3 separate regions of the Homo sapiens genome follow, and regions 1 and 3 are each linked to region 2. Evidence: promoter capture Hi-C in human tissues and cell types (Jung and others, 2019). All regions are on one chromosome and are shown on one strand. The core of a region is centred on a gene start or on the middle of the fragment in contact, and the rest is flanking DNA. Distances in the headings are between cores, read along the strand shown. Region 1 holds the start of KRT79 (keratin 79). Region 2 holds the start of KRT83 (keratin 83). Region 3 holds the start of EIF4B (eukaryotic translation initiation factor 4B).

Region 1 (2,700 bases), core at 162-2,661, 510 kb after region 2:
CTTCATAGAAGCACTGTGGGTACCTCAGGAGAAAAGGGATGTGCATGTTCTTCGGAAACACACAAATCACTGAACCAAGGTACATTTGTCTGCCAGACCTTCCCCATCATGACCCGCTGCCTTGGCTCAGGATCGAGGTGGACAATGCCAGCGAAACAGACCAGGAAATCCCAGCACAAGTGTTGCTCCCATCCATCTGGAGGCAAGGGCAAGGTTCAGGGCATGCCTATGGGCAACAGGTCAAATTCCACATTCCCAGAGCTTGGTGACCTGGTGACCACCCTCCTCATTGTCCACCCCAAATTGAGCTTCTTCACTCAGAGTGTAAAAAAAGGAGAAGCGGAAGGGAGCCTACCCCTAGGACCCCACCCACACACAACTGTGTTTTGATCACATCTTGCCCTTAAGCCTCCTCCAAGCCTGAAAGAATGGAACAAACAGGGCTCCATGCTCTTAGCCTTGAACAACTCTTTCAACTCCTGAGCATTGTTTCCCCAGCTGTAAAATGACAAAAGGCAATGCAGGCCACCCCACTAAGAGGAGCTATGAGGACAATCCATTTTTTGATGATGAGGTAAGGCTACTGTGCAATCAATCGTATTAATCATGGTGGTAGGACAGGCTTCAACACGGGCAAGGTGGACTTGGCAAACCGGACTCATGAGTAGACTGGAGACTCCCCCCGCACAGGCACGGTGAAGACCTGAAGGCCGCCTCCAGCCACCCACGTCTCGGCATCCCAGGCTCAGACCGGGAGAGCTCCAGAGCTCTATCAACCACCACCCTAGTACAAGTGGGCTACAGCAGCCCTGGCCCAGCCCACCCTCTATTAGAGGTCCCGCTTCTTCCCCAAGAGCTCCCTTCCTCCTTCCTGCTTGGCCCACCTTGTCGATGAAGGAGGCGAACTTGTTGTTGAGGGTCTTGATCTGCTCCCGCTCCTGAGTGCGCACTCGCTGGATCTCGGGGTCAATCTCCACATGGAGGGGGGTCAGCAGGCTCTGGTTGACAGTGACCTCCTGGATCCCCCCAGGAGGACAAGCAGGCCCAAACGTCTGCCTGCCAGCCCCCTGTCCCATAAATGCCCTGCTGCCAAAGCCAAAGCCCCCCAGAGCCCGCCCCAACAAGGCCCCTCCGGCCACACTGACAGAGATACTCTTGTGGCCCCCCAAGTTATAGAGGCTTCGGCTGCCAAAGCCACCTGTGCCGGGGCCACAGTGGGCCCCGCCACCACTGCCACTGCTCCGAGACACCGTCACTGAGCTGAAGCTGGTGCGGGCCTGGGACCCACTCCCTCCGCTGGCAGAGTTGGAGCTGAAGCCCCCTTTTGTGGAGTATGTTTGCCGAGAGACGGAGGACCTCATAGCTGCAGAGGGGCCGGAGGGCAGGATGAGAGGGCAGGAAGGGAGTGCCGTGAGCTGCTGGGCCACTGTGGGCTTTTTATCTTTTCCCAACTGGGCCGGCTCCCCAGCTCCACAGACACTCCTGCCCCATCGCCCCAAGGGGAGAGGGAGGGGTCCTTAGGGCCACGGGGAGTGCCCTCTCCCCAAGCAGGAGGGAGGGGCCCTCCCGGTTATCACCTGTGCTCCAGAGCTGGGGCTGAGCCGAGACTGTCTGGGGCAGGATGCCACCTTCTCCCCCTGCCCCCAGGCTCTCCTCGGTTGGCACAGGATGATACGGGCTCCCATGGCCACCCCCACCACCCAGTGGCTGGCTTGCTGTCCTCCCACCCAGCCCCAGAGGCCACTGTCAATAGGGCTCTGTTCTACGGGGTTTGTCCCAGGCCCCTGTTGTAAGCCAAGGCTGCAGGGCCTGGGGCTGTACAGGTGGTAGGAGAAGGAGCATTGGGCAATGGGCTGCCAGAGAGAGCATCCAGGCCTGCTCCCATCCCACCCCCAGCCAACGGCCCACCACTCCTCCCAGGTCCAGGGTGTGTGACACAGGTGACAGGGCGAGAGTGGGGATAGCCTGTGCCTCTGCCGTACAGTGGCAGAGCCTTCTGGGAAGTGAGCCTATGCTGGCAAAGTGAATTCAAGGACAGAAAGAGGATCCCTGCCCAATCGTGGGGCCCAGGCCCTTGATCAGGAGGTAGAAAAGGCCTGGGGTCCTCAGGCAGGGCCCAGAAGCCTGGGAGCAAAGGACATTCTTATGGAGGCTGAAGAGAGGGCAGGGGATTTAACCAATACCTGAGATCCCTGAGCCTCTACCCCACAGCAGAGTCCCCACAGAAAGGTTCAGCCACTTTGGAGGGAGCTGGAGGTGGGTCAAGGACACAGACCACCCTGGGTGGAGACAGGCACAGCTCCAAAAAGCAGGTGTTCCAAAAAAGCCCCAGGAGGCCCACGCAGCAGCCCCGTCACTCCCATCTTCCCCTGCCCCACATGCAGGAGCCCATGTTTCTGATTCAGAGGGGCCAGGGGAGCTCCTTAAATCACCTCATATGGTCCCCGCCGCCCACTTCCTATTCACCTCAGTCTGCTGGGACCAAACACAGCCCCAAGCAAAGACAGAGACGTCAACTGTCAGGGCCGAGGGGTGACTGAGGAGGTGACTTTAGACACTGGCCCTCCCCACCCCCTTCTCTCAGCAAGAAGATGGGCTCAAAGTGAACAGAGACTTGCCTGAAAAAAAGGAGCGAGGACAGCATCGCTGTGCTCCCCACCCCCATCAGATGAGCAGGACAACCAGCCAGGCTGTGTCCCC
Region 2 (2,700 bases), core at 106-2,605:
CTCTCCCAGCGATGAGGTTGGCCCACTACTCCACTCAGCTTCTTTTGTCTAATAACTTGGCCACACCCTTGGTAGGTCCTATCTTATGCTATCCTTGGTCTCTCATGCTATTAGAAATTCCACATTTTTTTTTCCCGATCCTTTCTGGTGGGCATCTCTCTAGTGTGACTCCTCTCTTGAGGTTTTGGCTCTGGAGGGCTCTTTCCAACCCCAGAACATGTTCCTAGTCAGAGCCTTTTCTCCCAGTCTCTCACATCACTGCCACATGGTGGTTGCCTGGATTCAGTGGAGAAGGTGGCTGCAAACTCTAGTTGGACACTGACTACACAGATGGTTTCAACCAAACCCAGACTGTGCACTGCCTGCCTCCCCATAAAGCCTGTGAGGATGGGGACCATGACTCTTGCTCACCCCTGGATCCTGAGCCCCAGGAACAGTGGCTTGGACAAAATACTCTAGACCCTGCTCAGTGGCCAAATCACTGTGTGGTATAGAAAGAGTTCTGTGCCATCCACGAGACCCACTTCCAGACAGTTTTCCAGCACCACACTTATTAGCCCTGCCTTGATGGAGACAGCATCTCCTTGGCATTTAAGCAGTTATTTGGCTTCAAATGCCCTGAGCGCCCACACAGTGGTCCTTTGCTCACTAGGTGATATTATCACTCAGTGTGGAAGGCTCTGCCCCTCGTTCTGCTTTTGTGTTTTCAGTTAATCTCCCCCATCAGTCTGGTAGCTCCCGGTCCCATTTTTGTCTTTCTGTCTGTGTCCTAGAAGTATGACTACCTTTCCCTTTGGCCTGGGAACTTCTGTGGGCAAGTTCTTGCCTTTGACTTCCCTGTCAGTGCCCAGCCTGAGTTCTGAACATGAGTAGGGGTTCAGGAAGGGTGTGATCCAGGACGACACCCACCTTGTCGATGAAGGCCGCGAATCTGCTGTTGAGGGACTTGATCTGCTCCTTCTCCTCCTGCTTCACGCACTGCGCGTTGGGGTCTATCTCCAGGTTGAGGGGCGTGAGGAGGCTCTCGTTGACCGACACGGTGGTGATGCATGGGGGGCTGGGTCCGCACACGCCCCCGGAGCGGTAGCCGAAGCTGCGTCCGCAGGAGCCGGCGCGGAAGCCCCCGCACACGCTGTGGCTGCCAAAGCCCCCGGTGAGGCCGCGGTAGCAGGAGATGCCGCGGTAGGGGGCGGCGGTGATGCAGCAGCGGCTTGGCCGGGGCCCGCAGGCAGAGACACAGCTGAAGTTTCCAGGGCGGAACCCACAGCCTATGGAGTTGAAGCCACAGGTCATGACGGAGGTTAGGAGGTGTCTGAACAGTGGAGTAGATGGCAGAGGATGGAACCAAGGGCCTGTGCTCCCTGGCTGATGGCAGGCCCTTTTATGTGCCAGGGGCAGCTGGTGTTAAAAGAGGGAGCAAAGAGACAATAGCTGAATTTTATTGGCTTGGCATCACCCTGGCCTCTTAAGCTAGAACCCTGCTTGCCTCTTCAGTGTGGCTGCATCAACAATCCCTGGCCACGGGCCCTGTTTCATCTTCAAAGCCCTTTATAAGCTTCCTCCTTGCTCCTGCCCCTCCCACTGGCACTGCTGTGGAGCGGGGAGAGGGGTTCCTGAAAGCATTAGTTGCATTCTGCGGTCCAAGCGAGGGGAATGGGTGCAGTGACCTGGGGTAAAGCCTGCTCTCTGAACCCTGTTCTGAAAGGGGCAGAGCTAGGCTATGGGCCCTGGACCCATGGCCAAGCCCTGGGGTGGAGTGGCTGGCCTGTCCCAAGGAGGGGGCTGCCTCTGAGACAACCTCTTGCTGTAGGCTTTCCTGTCTTTTTCTCAAAGGCGGGTTCCTTTCCTCATTGTCAAGATTGGCCGCTCCTATCCTATTCCTGCTCAGAGCCTGGTCAAGGATGGGAGTGGGGGTAGAGATTTGGGGTGGGAGGAGGGCATGTTCTTTGCACTTTGGGTATTCCTAGTGCAGGGACACCATCTGGGACATGGAAGAAACTGATTCAGAGAGTTCAGGACAGTGCCAGGGCTATGCTTCAGAGTTCCAGGTGTCATTGCTGATGGGATCAGGAGCGGGGAGTGTGGAATACCTCAGAGCTCCAGGGACTCATGGAGGAGAGTGGGGACCTGGGCTTGAGGAGGATTGGGGTGGGGTAGTACAGGATTGAGAGATGACCAGAAAAGAGTCTGGCTCTGATTTGCAGACTAGACTATGTGTATTCATTTATTCATTTATTCATTTATTCATTTATTCAGGAAATACTTATTTGGTGCCCACCAACTATGCACTAGCCACTGTGCTAGGTTCTGGAAATCCTACAGAGACCTGGGGTGTTTGGAGGTAGCATGCATGTGGGGGAGCCAACATTTGGCTAGGGGGAAAGATGAGAAGCCACAGATGGGGGGAAGGCCCTCACAATGTCCAGGCTGATTGGTGTTCTTTAGGTTCCCAGCAGGGAAGCTCAGTGATGGGGTCTTGGGGTGTATGTACTCACCAGGAAGGAGGGAAGGTGCGGGAGGTGAGGGACATCAGCAGGGTCCTTAAATGAGATCACTCTCTCACCTCAGAGAACACACTGGGTGAGAGAAGGGTGCTAGCTCATGTGGCTGTTCCTAAAGCCAAGCTCTCTTACTTTGGGCCCTTGTTCCTTTGGGTTAGGACAGGCAATGGCTTTGATGGATGGACAGTCGGACCGAGCC
Region 3 (2,700 bases), core at 112-2,611, 690 kb after region 2:
TGTACCCGCAAGTGTCTGTGCCTGGCACACGGTGGGAAACAAAAATTTTCATTTAATGAATGAAATGGAACATCAGCTAGGGGAAGCATGAATAGCCCTAGTCTCAGAAATCCTAAAGGCCTAAGTTGGACTAAACCTAGTCAGCAAATTGGACCATTAAATGAGGTAAAAGCCCATGACAATTAAGTGTTCAGCATTTGTTACCTTCTTATTCCGTCTAAATATGCCTCATTAAAACCATTCTTACACAAGACGTTCGATTTGTTTTGCCTTTACAAAAAGTAATTTGAAAACAAACAGTGGTTGATGCCTGTAATCCCGGCACTGTGGGAGGCCTCGGAGGGAGGAATGCTTGAGTCCAGGAGTTCGAGACCAGCCCAGGCGACACAGGGAGACACACCGCCCCCCCCAAGCCCGCCACTCTGTCTCCACACAAAGACTTTTTTTTAATTAGCTGGTCCTGGAGGCACTCGCCTGTGGTCCCAGCTACTCAGGAGGCTGAGGTGGAAGAACTGCTTGAGCCCCGGAGGTTGAGGCTGCAGTGAGCCGAGATCGCGCCACTGCACTCCAGCTTGGGAGACAGGGCGAGACCCCGTCTCAAAAAATAAAAATAAATAAAAATAAAATCAGTGATTTCTGATGTGGCTTTTAAAAACTAGGCCGGGCGCGGTGGCTCACGCCTATAATCCAGCACTTTGGGAGGCCGAGGCGGGTGGATAGCCTGAGACCAGGAGTTCAAGACCAGCATGGCCAATATGGTGAAATATCCCGTTTCTACTAAAAATACAAAAAACTAGCAGCGAATGGTGGTGGGCGCCTGTAATCCCAGCTACTCCAGAGGCTGAGGCAGGTGAATCGCCTGAACCCGAGAGGCGGGGGTTGCAATGAGCCGAGGTCGCGCACGCCATTGCACTCCAGCCCGGACAACAGGAGCGAAACTCCGTCTCAAAAAAGTACATTAAACTCAGAATCTTCCCTTTCAGCACATCCATTTCGCCACACCCATCACCGGCTCCGTGCAGAGTAAGCAGAAGCAGCAGCGAAGCCCCGCCCTTCCCGCCACTCTTCCGGCAGGAAGTCTGTGCGTCAGGAGGCCGGCCAGGACTCAGCTCCAGCCCCGCGCTCGCGTGTAGCCCTACGTAAAGCGTGAGGGGTTTCGCGACAACCCAGGCCCCGCCCCTTTGGCCACATGTCGCGCATGTCTTCCCGTCGGACGGCGTGCCACCTCGCCGCGCAGCTTTACGAACCTAGAGCAGCGCCGCCCCGCCTCCTGTCTCCGTCCTCACCTCCCCGCCCCCTCCCAGCTTCGCGTCTCCTAGCTCGACGCGCCCGCTATAATCACGTGATTGCCTCATCCGGGTCTTTTGCGTTCTCTTTCCCTCTCCCAACATGGCGGCCTCAGGTGAGCGAGCAGCCGAGCGCGGCCAAGGACTGGGCTCTGAAACCCCCCTCCGAGCGTGATCCACTGATTTCCTGAAGTCGGGGAATTGCTGGCACTGGTTCCTTTCTGAATTGAGGGCTGCGGCAGGCTGGCGGCGTGGCCCTGTTAGGTTACTGCCTCTGGATGTTTGGGGGGGAGGGGAAGGACACCTTCCCCTCCCCCTCACACTCTTTTCACCCTTTCTGCGCGAGATTGGAATAGGCAGTAATGGTAGACTCTGGCTTGAATTGGGGAAGGAGGCGCAGAAAGGTGTGCGGGTGGTGCGAGGCCTTTTCGTAGACGTGAATCACCGTGCCCGCGTGAAGGCGTGGAGGAAGGAAGGAGGCGGTTGCTGCGCGGACGAGTGCACATTAGACTACGTCTCCAAGGCGCGAGGCTGTAGCGGACCGGAGTGGGGGGTAGGGGAGTAAGTGTGGTGGGGGGGAGCAGTTGGAACGCGAGCGCGAGTTGGTGGAGGGGCGGGGGAAGGCAGCGGTGCGCGTGCGCGGTAGGAGACACGAGGGTAGTAGAGACGGGCGCGCCTTCAATGCGTGCGCTAGAACCCAGATGGGAAGCTTTTTAACGCGCCTGTGTTGCGCACTTATGTCCTTTTAGGTTGTCTCTTCCCTTTCTAGAGTGTGGGCCCTGTGCCTGTATTCTTCTAAGGGTGTGTGTGTTAGCCTTGGAGGTTGGTGCTATTGGCGTTAGATGGGGGTGGGGAATCCAGTTAGGTGCGCCCACGTGTTGGAGAAGCACCGGTGTGCACCTAGATTTCCTTCTAGGCTTTTTTCTCATACTCAATTGGAGGCATTTTTTACTCAGCGCAGCTATATGCCAGGATCAGGTTTCGCTTCCGGCGCTTCCATGTTGGTTGAATTTGGATAGCTCCAATGGTAGATTTCAGCCTTTTTTTTTTTTTTTTTTTTTTTTTTTTAAGGTAACTGTGCAACTACCAGCAGGTACTTTTAAAATAGTGCTTACTAATGGCTGGAGTTGCTTACTTCTTTAGACAACCTTGGAGGGGAGTATCAGTGCCTTGCAAGTCTAATTACATTTCTAATGGGCTTATAAAAGCAGTGATGACCCAACATCTTGTAGCATTGATTTTAGTTTGAGGAATATAGTTTGTTTTCTCTGGCATGACCTTGCATTCTTCAAAACATTATTTGAACTTCTATCTCTGGGTGCTCATTTCTTACCTAGTAATTCATCGTCTCTATTACAAAGAAGCTAAGGGTTTTGGTTGGCTTTGGAAAATGTTGAGAAATTTGAGGTGCATT

What was found. The method cuts DNA at HindIII sites, captures the fragments that hold promoters and counts their contacts. A contact is called where the count stands out against the background at its distance.
Region 1: a contact is called between the fragment with the promoter of KRT79 here and the fragment with the promoter of KRT83 in region 2, in 7 of the 25 tissues and cell types used here (bladder, heart left ventricle, heart right ventricle and 4 more).
Region 3: a contact is called between the fragment with the promoter of EIF4B here and the fragment with the promoter of KRT83 in region 2, in 5 of the 25 tissues and cell types used here (H1 embryonic stem cells, IMR-90 fibroblasts, heart right ventricle and 2 more).

Annotation. Positions count from the first base shown.
Region 1 is chr12:52,832,900-52,835,599 of GRCh38, forward strand. KRT79 (keratin 79) reads right to left here and starts at 1,412. Exons shown (of 9, transcript NM_175834.3): 1 at 885-1,412. The coding sequence starts at 1,361. The HindIII fragment of the contact is 20,589 bases long and covers 1-2,700 here.
Region 2 is chr12:52,320,043-52,322,742 of GRCh38, forward strand. It overlaps KRT83 (keratin 83), which reads right to left and starts at 1,356. Exons shown (of 9, transcript NM_002282.3): 1 at 910-1,356. The coding sequence starts at 1,293. The HindIII fragment of the contact is 13,306 bases long and covers 1-2,700 here.
Region 3 is chr12:53,005,095-53,007,794 of GRCh38, forward strand. It overlaps EIF4B (eukaryotic translation initiation factor 4B), which reads left to right and starts at 1,362. Exons shown (of 15, transcript NM_001417.7): 1 at 1,362-1,402. The coding sequence starts at 1,390. RefSeq lists enhancers at 733-1,476, 1,477-2,220. The HindIII fragment of the contact is 23,564 bases long and covers 1-2,700 here.